Linked DNA regions of Homo sapiens: region 2 is linked to region 1. The links are contacts of gene promoters, found by promoter capture Hi-C in blood cells and fetal thymus (Javierre and others, 2016). All regions are on one chromosome and are shown on one strand. The core of a region is centred on a gene start or on the middle of the fragment in contact, and the rest is flanking DNA. Distances in the headings are between cores, read along the strand shown. Region 1 holds the start of OR9K2 (olfactory receptor family 9 subfamily K member 2). Region 2 overlaps LOC107984515 (a long non-coding RNA gene).

Region 1 (6,846 bases), core at 1,033-3,532:
ACAGGTGCACAGGGATTCCAAATTCTACATCCAAATGCGGTGGTAGCATCGGCGGCAGCGACCGGAATAATTTATTAAAGATTCAGTTGTTGGACCAACTGGATGTCATTACTTTAGAAAGGTGAGTAACTGTCATCCAGGATATAATCTGTGCTCTTCATTAGCGACAAATATATGAAACAATTACAGGTCCAAGTACAAGGAGTCAAAATGGGATTGTCAGCCACCACTGTAAAACCTATCAACTCACTCTCAATTTTTTTTTGCTGGATGCTTGCATGACATTTGTCCCTGCTGAATGAATATTCTTACTGCTTAACGGAGAGATAATTTTACTAGGGGAACACAACAATTGATAAAATGAGCTCTAAATTCAGTCTCCTTACTGAATTTACATTCATTTTGCTGAACCAACTGAGAGGTGAAGCTGGCTGGGCTTCTGGGTGGGGTGGGGACTTGGAGAGCTTTTCTGTTTAGCTAAAGGATTGTAAACACACCAATCAGCACTCTGTGTCTAGGTAAAGGTTTGTAAATGCACCAATCAGCACTCTGTAAAAACGGACCAATCAGCACTCTGAAAAATGGACCAATCGGTGCTCTGTAAAATGGACCAATCAGCAGGACGTGGGTGAGGACAAATAAGGGGATAAAAGCAACCCACTAGATTCCCCTTCCACCCTGTGGAAGCTTTGTTTTTCAGCTTAGCAACAAATCTTGCTGCTGCTCACTCTTTGGGGCCCTGCTGCCCTTATGAGCTGTAAAATTCACCACCAAGGTCTGCAGCTTCACTCCTGAAGCAAGCCAGACTACAAACCCACCCGAAGAAAGAACAGCTCTGGAGGTGCCACCTTTATGAGCTGTAACACTCATTGCAAAGGTCTGAAGCTTCACTCCTTTTTGTTTTTTTTCTTTTCTTTTTTTGTTTTTGTTTTTTAATTATTATTAGACTTTAAGTTCTAGGGTACATGTGCGCAACGTGCAGGTGTGTTACATATGTATACATGTGCCATGTTGGTGTGCTACACCCATTAACTCATCATTTACATTAGGTATATCTCCTAATGCTATCTGTCCCCCCCCGCCACCTCAGGACAGGCCCCGGTGTCTGATGTTCCCCACCCTGTGTCCAAGTGTTGTAGTTGTTCAATTCCCACCTATGAGTGAGAACGTGCGGTGTTTGGTTTTCTGTCCTTGCCATAGTTTGCTGAGACTGATGGTTTCCAGCTTCATCCGTGTCCCAACAAAGGACATGAACTCATCCTTTTTTATGACTGCATAGTATCCCATGGTGTATATGTGCCACATTTTCTTAATCCAGTCTATCATTGTTGGACATTTGGGTTGGTTCCAAGTCAGCGAGACCACAAACCCACCGGGAGGAACGAACAACTCCAGACATGCCACCTTTAAGAGATTTTAAGAGCTGTAACTCACTTTTGAAGTCAGTGAGACCACAAACCCACCAGAAGGAAGAAACTCTGGACACATCTAAATATCTGAAGGAACAAACTCCGGACACACCACCTTTAAGAACTTTAACACTCACCGGAAGGAACCAACAGTTCTTTAAATTATTTTGAACTATATACAGGGACTGATGAGAAGTTACTAACTTAATACATGACACCTGAATAAACAACTTTAAAGCAATTAAAATTACAATATAAACCCAACTTTAGATCCAGTTAATCATGTGGCCTTTACTTGATGGATTAGAGGGCGTTTGTTGGATTTTTGCCCATATCATGGTCGTGCTGTTCTATCTTTCTTCTCAATTACTATTGAGAAAATATAGTTTAAAAAGTCATCAAGGAGAGATTTGGGTGAATAGAATTCTGAAAGTAAATATGAAATTAACTTTATGATTAGGACTCAAAATTTTCCTACAAATGGCATTATGAACCACAACATTTCCTTTCGTATCTATTTCTACTTGCTTATCAAAAACTGTGCTATAATGATAAATTGAAAATGCTGCTTTTTCAGTGAAGAAATTAAAATTAAAAGATCCTTGTGATTTTTCCTAAAGAATGTCTCATATGTACTTTAAGTACTCTTAGGCTTTTTAAAAAAATATAGAATCTCTGAGGTCTTCATGGATCTTGCTTTTAGATCCTAGAAGTCTTACTAATTAATTGACTTGTGTTCTTCTCTCCCAGAGGTACTGTCTCCCAGAACATAGAGGAAATCTCAATACTGTAATTATATGAAAAAGCTGTAGCAAAACCGAAGCCCTCGTGGATAACTGCTGTTGATATTTTGGCAGTATTCAGAGATGCCAAAGAGCTCAGGACCTCTACTTGCATATCCATGGCAATCTATCCTCTTGCCTTGAAAGCATACAAGTTTCTGAGAATTCAGGATAGATAATATCTTGTGGATTGATTCCTCAGGTTCACTTTGCTTATCTATAGATTTTTGTTCCTGGAATCACTTCAGTTTTGGCAGAACATGATTTGAAAAATTCACCTTGACTCTCTTCTAAAAAGGACTATAAAACTTTTCAGGAAATCAACTACTGAAAAAAAGACTTTTTAAAATAGAGCAATGAGGCACATAAGCCACATTTATCTATGGGAAGAATCTAAAACTGTAATAATAAATGTGGATTTGTGGGGAATGATTCATTTTATTTCAAAGTAATTATTTTTCAGTATTTATAATTATGACAGTCATTAATTAACTTTATGTTTATCCTTTCTAGAATTAAAACAATAAACAGAGGAAAACATTGGAACTCTGCTGATTGATTTTTACCAGAATCTGACCAGTTACTAAACAATACAAGGTAAAAGTAACTTAAAACCTGTAAGTTTTTGAAAAATAAGTCACAAACTGACTACTTGTTGTTGGCTTCTGCGGGAATAACTCCCTTTTCCAGGTAAAAAATGTCATCAGCAATGCATTTATTAACATTTATAATGTTACAATGTTTATAACATTTATGATATAAATTTATTTTAATAAGTTTGTTTTTTTATATTCTCTGATTCCACATACTCATTATCATTCAGCTTTTTTCTACGTAATAATATGTATTGAATTATTGTCATTCACTAGATTCAGAACATTATGTTGACAATACGCAGCAAACAAGCTGAGTTTGATGTTAAGGATATTATTGTCAAGTGAGGAATAATTACTATTAATAATAATATTAAATTCTAATGTTGAAATGAGTTTGATAGAAATAAATCTTAGAAATTAAAATAATCTGTTTTGCTTCTAGATGAGAATAAAATGAAGATAAATTATATATATTATTTTTCAAAAAATGATTTTTCATGCTGACTTCAGTCAGCTTTCTTTCACTTCTTAAATGTCTCACATCTTTCCAGACCCTAAGTGCAATCTAATGTAAGCTCTTACTACTTCTTAATTACTTACATATTTAATTTTTGATAAAATGGGTGAATATTTTATTTTCAACATTTAATACAGTCTTAAATAATGATAACATCTTATTCAGCTTTTCTCTTAATAATCTTTTTTCTCAGGCAAAATATTCCATTTCTCCAAGAGTTCTTCATCTCTCTAAACTTTTAACAGATTGATTCTTCCCCTCAACTGAGAATGTTTTGTCCAAAAACGACCATATATATTATTGGTTTTCAACCTAATAAGCACTATTTGGTATGAATAGTGGGACTGAGCACTGAAACGTATAATAAAAATAATGGCTAACATTTACTGAATACTTAGTTTACCATAAATGGTGCTAAGTGATTTACATACGTATGTCATTTTCTATTCCCAAGAAAACTTTGAGGACTCTTATTTCCACTTTATATATGAGAATACAGTAGCATAGAGAGAGAGCATAAGTAACTTGTCCAAGATCCCATTTAGAAAGTGAGAGAAGCAGAACTGGAGCCTAGATTTATTTAAACCTAAAACCCATACTAACCACTGCAGTATTGGATGGATAGTTTTTATATTTTTCTCTGTTTCTGCATGATCATTATCATTCAACTTTTATCTATAGTAAATATGTATTAACTGCCATTTACCAGACACATAACGTTATGCTGACAATATATGGAGAACAAATTGAATTTTGTCTTAAGTTATTGTCAAGTGAAGAATAATTAATATGTAACCTCAATATTAAAATATGGTGGCAGTTGGTCTCTTCAAATTATCTTTGGATGAGATGTTTTGACCCAGGTTGAAGAATTAGAGATTTTATTTGGAAATATGAAATTTTAACTACACTCTAAAGTACAAGCAGAAGTAAGGTAGGGGAACAGGAAGGGTCCTTTATTTAAAGTTGATATAGTACAGTGATTAATCATTAATGATGATTAAAAGCATGGATTCTGGAGCCAGTTTTCCTGGCTTCAAATCTTGATTCTGACTCAAGTAAGTGAATTTCAGCAGACTTCATTTCTCTGTACCTCAATTTACTCATCTGTAAACTTGGGAATATAATAATAACCACCTAATGTTATTATTGAATGGATTAAATGAGCTACTATGAAAGCATTTAGAAAAGTGTCTGGCACATAAAAAGTGCCATATACATATTTGTTATTATTGTTGCCTAGACAGAATCATGCACATAAAGCCCTTAGGACAGAGAAAGAGTGGCTTGTATTGTTAACATACGAAGTTAAAAAATCTATTTGAGCAGTAATGAGTTAATAATGGCTACAAAAGTTGTATTCAGGGCAAATAAAAGTGTAATCAGCAATGCCCCCATATGTATCCTTTGCAGTATTAATTCCTAAAGTAACTCTTTTATCTGTGGAAGAGTTCTACTGTAGATCTCTTTTTAAAGAACTGCAAGTCACATGGACACATAGAGGGGAAAAACACACACTGGAGCCTTTTGCAGGGTGGAAGGTGGGAGGAGGGAGAGGATCAGGAAAAATAACTAATGGGTACTAGGCTTAATACCCTGGTGATTAAATGATCTGTACAGCAAAACCCCATGACACAAGTTTACCTATGTGACAAACGTGCACTTGCACCCCTGAACTTAGAAGTTAAAGATCTCCAAGTCTTGGGATCAAGAAATGAAGGGAAGTTTTCTTTATGAAAGTGCTTTGATGGCCCATCTGGGACAGAAATTCTTGAATATGAGTAGTAATAATTTTGTGCTTGGTTGCACACACCTTTTATCTTAGTGGGTACATAACTTCCATCAGAATCCAGTTTCCATGACTTGTGAAAGGTAATTGCACTTCTCAAGTAGGTTTTTTTTTTTAACTCAGTCACTTCCTTTATATTTGTTGGTACTCCAAATTAAGTCTCTGTTTTCCTAAACTTGGCTACTAAAACCCCAAATATCTCCCAACCCAAACTAACTAATGTGCTTCCCAAAGTCGTTTTTAAAATTAATTGTGCTCTCTTCCAGTCACTGCTTCATGATGTTGAAGTTATTGTGTGAATCATGAGTGGGAAATGTATAAAGAAGTGATACTTGGAAATGTGAAAGGCATTTGGGTAGAAAGGCATTGTATTAGATGCAGAGGCAAAAAACCTAACTCTAACACTTAAAGAAATAAGAAATGCAACTAATCTTTGGTTTCAACAGCAATTGATTGGCTTTAAGTCACAGTATACTTATGAGGCAAAAATTAATAATAACATTAATTTAAAAATAGCTTTGTAAATCCTAATACCATAAGAGATTATTTGTAATGCTAGGATCCAAACCAAGAGTTCATTTGTATATTTTGCCCTGTGCCTCTCAACAGGTTTCTACCATGGGTGACAGGGGAACAAGCAATCACTCAGAAATGACTGACTTCATTCTTGCAGGCTTCAGGGTACGCCCAGAGCTCCACATTCTCCTCTTCCTGCTATTTTTGTTTGTTTATGCCATGATCCTTCTAGGGAATGTTGGGATGATGACCATTATTATGACTGATCCTCGGCTGAACACACCAATGTATTTTTTCCTAGGCAATCTCTCCTTCATTGATCTTTTCTATTCATCTGTTATTGAACCCAAGGCTATGATCAACTTCTGGTCTGAAAACAAGTCTATCTCCTTTGCAGGCTGTGTGGCCCAGCTCTTTCTCTTTGCCCTCCTCATTGTGACTGAGGGATTTCTCCTGGCGGCCATGGCTTATGACCGCTTTATTGCCATCTGCAACCCTCTGCTCTACTCTGTTCAAATGTCCACACGTCTGTGTACTCAGTTGGTGGCTGGTTCCTATTTTTGTGGCTGCATTAGCTCAGTTATTCAGACTAGCATGACATTTACTTTATCTTTTTGCGCTTCTCGGGCTGTTGACCACTTTTACTGTGATTCTCGCCCACTTCAGAGACTGTCTTGTTCTGATCTCTTTATCCATAGAATGATATCTTTTTCCTTATCATGTATTATTATCTTGCCTACTATCATAGTCATTATAGTATCTTACATGTATATTGTGTCCACAGTTCTAAAGATACATTCTACTGAGGGACATAAGAAGGCCTTCTCCACCTGCAGCTCTCACCTGGGAGTTGTGAGTGTGCTGTATGGTGCTGTCTTTTTTATGTATCTCACTCCTGACAGATTTCCTGAGCTGAGTAAAGTGGCATCCTTATGTTACTCCCTAGTCACTCCCATGTTGAATCCTTTGATTTACTCTCTGAGGAACAAAGATGTCCAAGAGGCTCTAAAAAAATTTCTAGAGAAGAAAAATATTATTCTTTGATTATTATTTCTCTTTCACCAATTTTATTGTGGCTATTTATTTAATACACCTGTGTTCATTAATAAAAGTTACTCTCCCGAATGTCATAAAAATACTCTTAGATGTTTTCATGTGATGTGCTCTTTCCATATTTTACTTTTTTACCTCCCAAGACATCATTAATTCTGAAAATCTTGGATATTGGAGATATCCT
Region 2 (6,445 bases), core at 781-3,280, 130 kb before region 1:
AGGAGGAAATCTGTACAATCAAGATGGTTTCCTGAACGTGAGCTGTGGGGCTGCCCAGTGATGCCCGCAGGCTTCAGGATGCAGGACACATCTGCACCCCTGGTTCCTCTTGCCAGAGCCCAGGAGATTGGCAGGAACCCTAGGGAAGACCCAGTTCTGGGTGCAGGGCAGATGCTGAGCAGCTGAGCAAGCAGAACTCTGCAGGCGGGCGTTGGGGGTTCTCCTCTAGCTAACTTGGGTTTCCAGAGGCCTGAGAGCACAGCTTCCATATCTTCCTCCTTTGGGAGGAGGAAAGCTGGCTTCTCTTGCCTCTGACTCCCAGTGGTTCTCAAGGCCCCAGTGGGAGGTATTTGCCTGGGAAAAACAGAGCTGAAAGAGCAACAGAACCTCAAAGTATGAAGGAAAAGGAGAAACTGGCTTCTCCTCTGCTTTTTCTTAGAAGACAAGAGGCAGTTAGGGTAGGGCCAGAATGATTTTGCGAGTCCTTGAAGGGGAGAGGAAAGGTTAAAAGCCACAGGGAAAATTAACTCTGAGGGTAAAGAAAAGGATCCCCAGTGTATCCCTACATGTCTACCTACTCTCTGCAATAACAGACAGACATCTGAGTGGGACTGGCTTATGTTTGTCATAAAGAAAGATTTCTATGGATCTCCAAGATTTTCTGACAACGGGAGGGATGCGATGATGCCTGGAGGGGCCGTGTGTTCCATAGGGAGGCAGTGACTAGAGAATGGCCTGTCTGGGTTTGACTCCCTGCTCTGTCATTAACCTGCTATTTGAATTTGGGCAAGTTACACATCCTTGAAGCCTTCGCCTTCTCATGTAACACGAGACGATCATAGTGGCGACCTCAAAGTGATGTGCAAGTGAAATGAGGGAGTATGTAAAGCTTAGTATATCATCTAGTACTTAAGAAAGGAGCAGAGACTTTAGCTGTTGTCACATTTGTCACTTACAGTGAAAGAGCATTGGGTTGAGGGTGAGGAAACCTGGTTTCTATTTGTTTCTTTCTGTATATCCAGCTCTTTCCTCGGCAAACAATATCTTCTTCTTTTCCCCCATATGTCCTCTGGTAAAGAGACAGTATTGCATAAGATCCAAATTCTATTTTAACTTCTGATAGTAACTCACATTTTGAGCAAATGCAAATTACTTTACCACTCTGAGCCTCAGTTTCCCCATATATAAATGGAGAGGATAATAGCTATTTGGAGTTGTGGATTATTAGCACAGTGTTTAGAGTCAGACAAGCCTGGATTTGAATCATACCTTCAAAACTTACTAGCTATGTGACTGTGGGCATTTTACTTAAAGTCTCTGAGCCTCAGTTTCCTCAATTGTTACATGAGGATTATAACACCTAACACTTTTGTTGAGCTTGGCAAGGACTACTTAAGACAGTAAGTGTAAGCTGCTTAACCTAGAGCCCAGCTGAAAGTAAGTACCCTGGCAGCAAATTTGTACCTGGTAGCTTTCCTGTATGAACGAATGAAATCACCTAAGAAGTATTCTTTTAATCACATCTCTTCTGCCTGAAACAAAAAGGAGATAATACATGTGCAAATTTCATGTCTTCATTCTGCTTCCCCCATTTAGATTGATCCTCTGAAAAAGTATCTAAGGATATTTGTCCCAAATTCAGCCATAACCTGCTCCAACATCCCCCATCTATTCCCTCCAGGGTAACTCACAAAGCCCATCCATCAACTCTCAAGCTCACCTTTGTCATGCAGAGTGGACCAGCCTGGAGCTACGAATCCCCCTCCCCCAACACCCAACATCCCAACACACACACACACACATATATATACTGCACACTAATTTCTCAAAAGCCAAATTAAAGTCACCGTCCATCCACTGCCAGAAGCCCCTTTCCTCTTCCTTACTCCCAAAGGAATCCTCGCCCTCCATAGACATCACCCTCCCCCCAGCTCCATCCTCTATCACAGACACACACTGGTCACCATCCCACTTCTCCTCCCCTTCTCTATTGCTCAGTAATTATATTCTCCGCCTCCCAGTGTCATGCTAATATAAGCTCCTGGCACAGCTGCCCAGATTAAATTAGAGCCCAAACCAGCAGGCTGACTAATTATATTTTCTGGGATGGAATTGTCTTCCCCCACCTTTGGGGTACAGGGCCAATAAAAAGTAAATGAGCACTGCCAATATTTGCAGAGGATATTTGACTCTTCTTGCCTGGGTGGTTTTGTCTTCCCCAACCAATCTGGGCCCTTGAATTAGATTACACCAGAATGGGAGAAGAGAGTTTTACTCAAATGACCCTTCTAAGTCCCATCCATTGTCCTGCAGGTCAGCTCAGCTGGGCCTGACCACCACCATCAGGCCAAGGAAGAGAACATAGCATGAAACTCTTTCTCGTGAATGAGACTCTTCTGCTACCTTTGTGAGTCCCTCCCTTGTTCCCAGCACCAAAATCTTTCCTTCAGATACTCACTGCAACCTGTCCTGAAATGATTGTTGCTGAATTCTTTTTACTTCTGTCTCATGTGAAAAAGAGTGTTGCTTCCCTTACAGAACACTGTTTCAAGGCTGATTCTTCAACTTTTACCTTTCCTTATTTATGGCTGGAACAACATAAAAGTTTCAATTGTGAAAAGAAATATTTTAGACAAGTTAAGTTTAACAGAGTTTAATAGATTTTTTAATTAAATTTCTTTTTCTTTTTGCAGAGACAGGGTCTTGCTATCTTGTCCAGGCTGGTCTCAAAATCCTGGGCTCAAGCAATGCTCCTCCTTTGACCTCTCAAAATGCTGGAATTACAGGTGTGTGGCATTGTGCTGGCCAACAGAGTTTAATTGAACAAGAAAAAAAAAGATTCATGAATTGGGCAGCCCCCAGAATCACAGCAGATTCAGAGAGGCTCCAGGGATGCCTGGCGGTCAGAGTGAGTTTATGGACCAAAAAAGGAAAGTGATTTACATAAAACGGAAGTGATGTACGGAAATAGCTAGGCTGGTTACAGCTTGGCATTTTGCCTTACTTAAACATGGTTTAAACAACAGCCTGTGAATGGCTGGAGTATGGCTACTGGGATTGGCTGAGACTCAGCTTTTGTTACAGAAGTATACTCCTCAGTTAGATTTCCACCCTGCCTACCTACTAAGTTCGGTTATGGTTCATCCATAAGGACTTAAGTATGAAAGTACGGAAGCTTTCCAAGCCCAGGTTTTAGTTTGATGTAAAACAATTTCCCTAGAGACAAGGTTTACTTAATTTCTTGATTCCACAAACATTTATTGCTCACTTGCCATATGCCACATACTGAGATGGGTATTGAAACATGTAAAGGCATAATTCTTGCCTTCAGAAAGATCAGGACCTCATGATGGGTCTAAATGTGTGTAGATGTGCAGAAATCAAGAAATCTGTGCAAGGCGCAGTGGCAACACAAGAGGCTTGCAATAAGAATCAGAAAAGGCATCAATGACGAGGTGATTCTTGGTGAGGTTTTGAAAAATTGTTCAGAAGGCCAATAAAATAAGGATAGGAATTCTGGGTAGAGAGAGAAAAGATATAGGGACAAGAAAGTCATAGCAATTTCATGACCTGCACGCATAAAGGATAAGACGAAAGGAGTAGCCAGAGATGGCCTTGAACAGCTGACGGATGTTTTACTTCTGGAGTTTTCTGGACCCCAAATTCATGTCCTCCTAACTGAGGGAGAGCAGATCTGCCTCTTAAAGGTCTGGGCAACCCCCGTTAGGGCCCTTTCTTTTGCCACCAACTTTCCTCTCAAATTTGCCTACAATGATCCCTCCCACAAATAATTGTTCCATTTTTGTGTGACTACTTCCTTTGGAAGTGCATTTAAGGAAGAATCTGATATTTCAAAGCATTGAAGGAAAAATTTCTGGTAGTAGAATTTCTAAAAACAAAAGAAAACCTCTGACTGGATCTCTGATGTTCTTCCATATACTCAGCAACCTTCTCTGCCTCTTTATTCATTCATTTGATCATTTAGTGCCAAGTTTTCAGCACCTTACCAAGCACTGCTCTAGAGATGATCCAGGGTAGAAGAAAAGGAGAGTCTTTCCCCTGCAGGAACTCAGTCTAGAGAAAGAGAGACAGATGCATAGATAATTAGAAGTTGCAATGAGAGCTCAGAGGAGGGGCATTGTGTTTGTTTCCAGTCACTGCCATTAACAAAGTACTGGAAATTGAGTGGTGTTTATTGTAGGGTAGCAGCCTGAAATCAAGGTATCAGCTGGCCACATTCCATGAAGCTTATAGGGGAATTCTCCCTTGTCTTCTCCTAGATTCTGGTGGTGTGCCGGCAATCTTTGGCATTCCTACTCCTGTAGATGCAATACTCCAAATCTCTGTCTTCACATGGAGTTCTTTGTGTGTGTTTTTGTCTTCACATAGTCACCTCCTTTTTTTTTTTTTTAAGATGGAGTCTCACTCTGTTGCCCAAGCTGGAGTGCAAAGGTGCCATCTCAGCTCACTGCAACCTCTGCCTCCCGGGTTCAAGCGATTCTCCTGCCTCAGCCTCCTGAGTAGCTGGGATTACAGGCCCGCGCTACCACACCCTGCTAATTTTTGTATTTTTAGTAGAGATGTGGTTTCACCATTTTGGTCAGGCTGGTTTCAAACTCCTGACCTTGTGATCTGCCTGTCTCGCCCTCCCAAAGTGCTGGGATTACAGGCATGAGCCACCACACCCGGCTCATAGTCGCCTTCTTATAAGGACAACAGTCATATTGGATTAGGGTCCACCCCGCTCAAGTATAACTTCACCATCATTTAACTAATTACACCTGCCATCGCCCAGTTTCCTAATAAGGTCACATTCTGAGGTTCTCATTAGGATTTCAAAGTATCTTTTTTGGGGGAAACACAATTCCACTTGTAATGGGCACCTAATTTTTCATAGGTGTATCAAGAATATTCTTAGAAGCAGGAATGATTGAAGTAAGTGTTTATTCCAGAGAGTCAAGTAAAAATGAACTAAAACAGTGATTTAGAGAGAAATGGTCCCATGGAGGAAATGACATGAGAAGAGACACGTGAGTGTATAGAAAAGGCACAAATAGACCAGGGCAGCGTGAAGAACTTCCTGTAGCTGTAGTATACAGTATTCAAAAACAAAGTGGTGAATGTTGGGATGTGAGAAAGGCATGCAGATCAGATAGTTACGGGCTTGGTAGCTGTTTTATCCTGGTATCAGTTGAGACCATTTCTTACTTATGGACTTGGGATTTACTGCCCTGACACCACTGAAAAGCAGGAGGCTGAGCAGTTAGTAAGTGTGATGTGGGAAAGGGGAAGTGGGAGACAGCTCTGTCCTCAGCAGCTGCAGTGGTCCCCCTGCTCCCCTCCTTCCCTTCCAGAGTAGGCACAGCCATCATCACTGGACTTTCCTGTGAAATGTAAATCCCATCAGAAAGAGACTCTGTTGTATTCATCCATATATTCTCAGCACAACAGCTGGCCCAGTGTACACACTGAATTTAGATTGGTCGAATGAATGAATAGATGGAAAAGTACATTTAGCTCAGCAAGACCCTGAGCAGGCCCTGCTGACCAAGTAATGCACCTAGGCGGATGCCATTTACGCATCCTGGTGCCTGCTTTACTTCTCTTTGCTTCTCTGTCTTTAAGATTCCATCAGGGAAGGTCTTTCAAGTGATAAAGAAAGACTCGCAGAAGTCTCTAGTAATCTGTGTTTACTACAAGGCTATGTGGGGAAGTGAAATAGTACGGGAGTATACAGCAACAGAAGCCTGATTATTCCGAGTCCCAGGGATGCCAGGATGGTGAGCACAGAGAGGGAGAATGAGATAACTAAGGCACCAACCTGGACTCAAACTCACTTTCTGTGTATACTTAATATTGTTACTTCCCAAGAGAGGATCTGCTAAGTTCCTCTCACCAACATCCAAAATGAAGCATTTCTACTGGCGAAAGTTTTGTCTTTGGCCTCTTCAGAGGGGTTTGGTCTCTACGTCAAAGCTACACAAGGTCTTCTCTGACCCTTAGCCCAGTCAGCTACACTGTTGGGCTTTAATTTTTACACAACACCTATATTATAATTTTAGAGAGAATGAACCACTGTTCTCAGAAAGGGACAGTAGACCAAACAACTTATTTTAAGACCTCTCTTCAGAATAAACCACTGACTGTATCAGCATGATATAGGTCTGGAATTCCGTAGCCCGTGAGAATTTTTACACTTCCTAAACACATGCCTTATATGGACATATTTCTGTCTTTCATGCTGTCTTTCAAGCATTTCCTCACTCAGTTATCTGTCTCCCCAACCACTCTGAGCAATGAGAAGATTATGAACCTTGCAGTCAGGCAGACAAGGGTTAGAGTCCTGCCATGGCATTTAATAAGTTTGCACATTGGGTGATTAATGTTCCTCTTAGCTCCTCAGTGTCCTTATCTGTTGTAAAAGATGCAATAGGCCGGGCGCAGT

What was found. The method cuts DNA at HindIII sites, captures the fragments that hold promoters and counts their contacts. A CHiCAGO score of 5 or more calls a contact.
Region 2: a fragment that was not itself captured here is called in contact with the fragment with the promoter of OR9K2 in region 1 in 2 of 17 cell types (naive B cells and endothelial precursors); the score reaches 6.2 in naive B cells.

The regions. Positions count from the first base shown.
Region 1 is chr12:55,124,124-55,130,969 of GRCh38, forward strand. OR9K2 (olfactory receptor family 9 subfamily K member 2) reads left to right here and starts at 2,283. Exons shown (of 3, transcript NM_001005243.2): 1 at 2,283-2,393; 2 at 2,705-2,788; 3 at 5,703-6,846. The coding sequence starts at 5,712. The coding sequence ends at 6,653. It also overlaps the pseudogene LOC644383. The HindIII fragment of the contact is 7,142 bases long and covers 884-6,846 here.
Region 2 is chr12:54,996,335-55,002,779 of GRCh38, forward strand. All of the region lies in intron 1 of LOC107984515 (a long non-coding RNA gene), which reads left to right. Among named protein-coding and RNA genes, the nearest start is that of TESPA1, 15 kb to the left of the region's middle. RefSeq lists a silencer at 5,001-5,050 and an enhancer at 5,151-5,340. The HindIII fragment of the contact is 2,286 bases long and covers 888-3,173 here.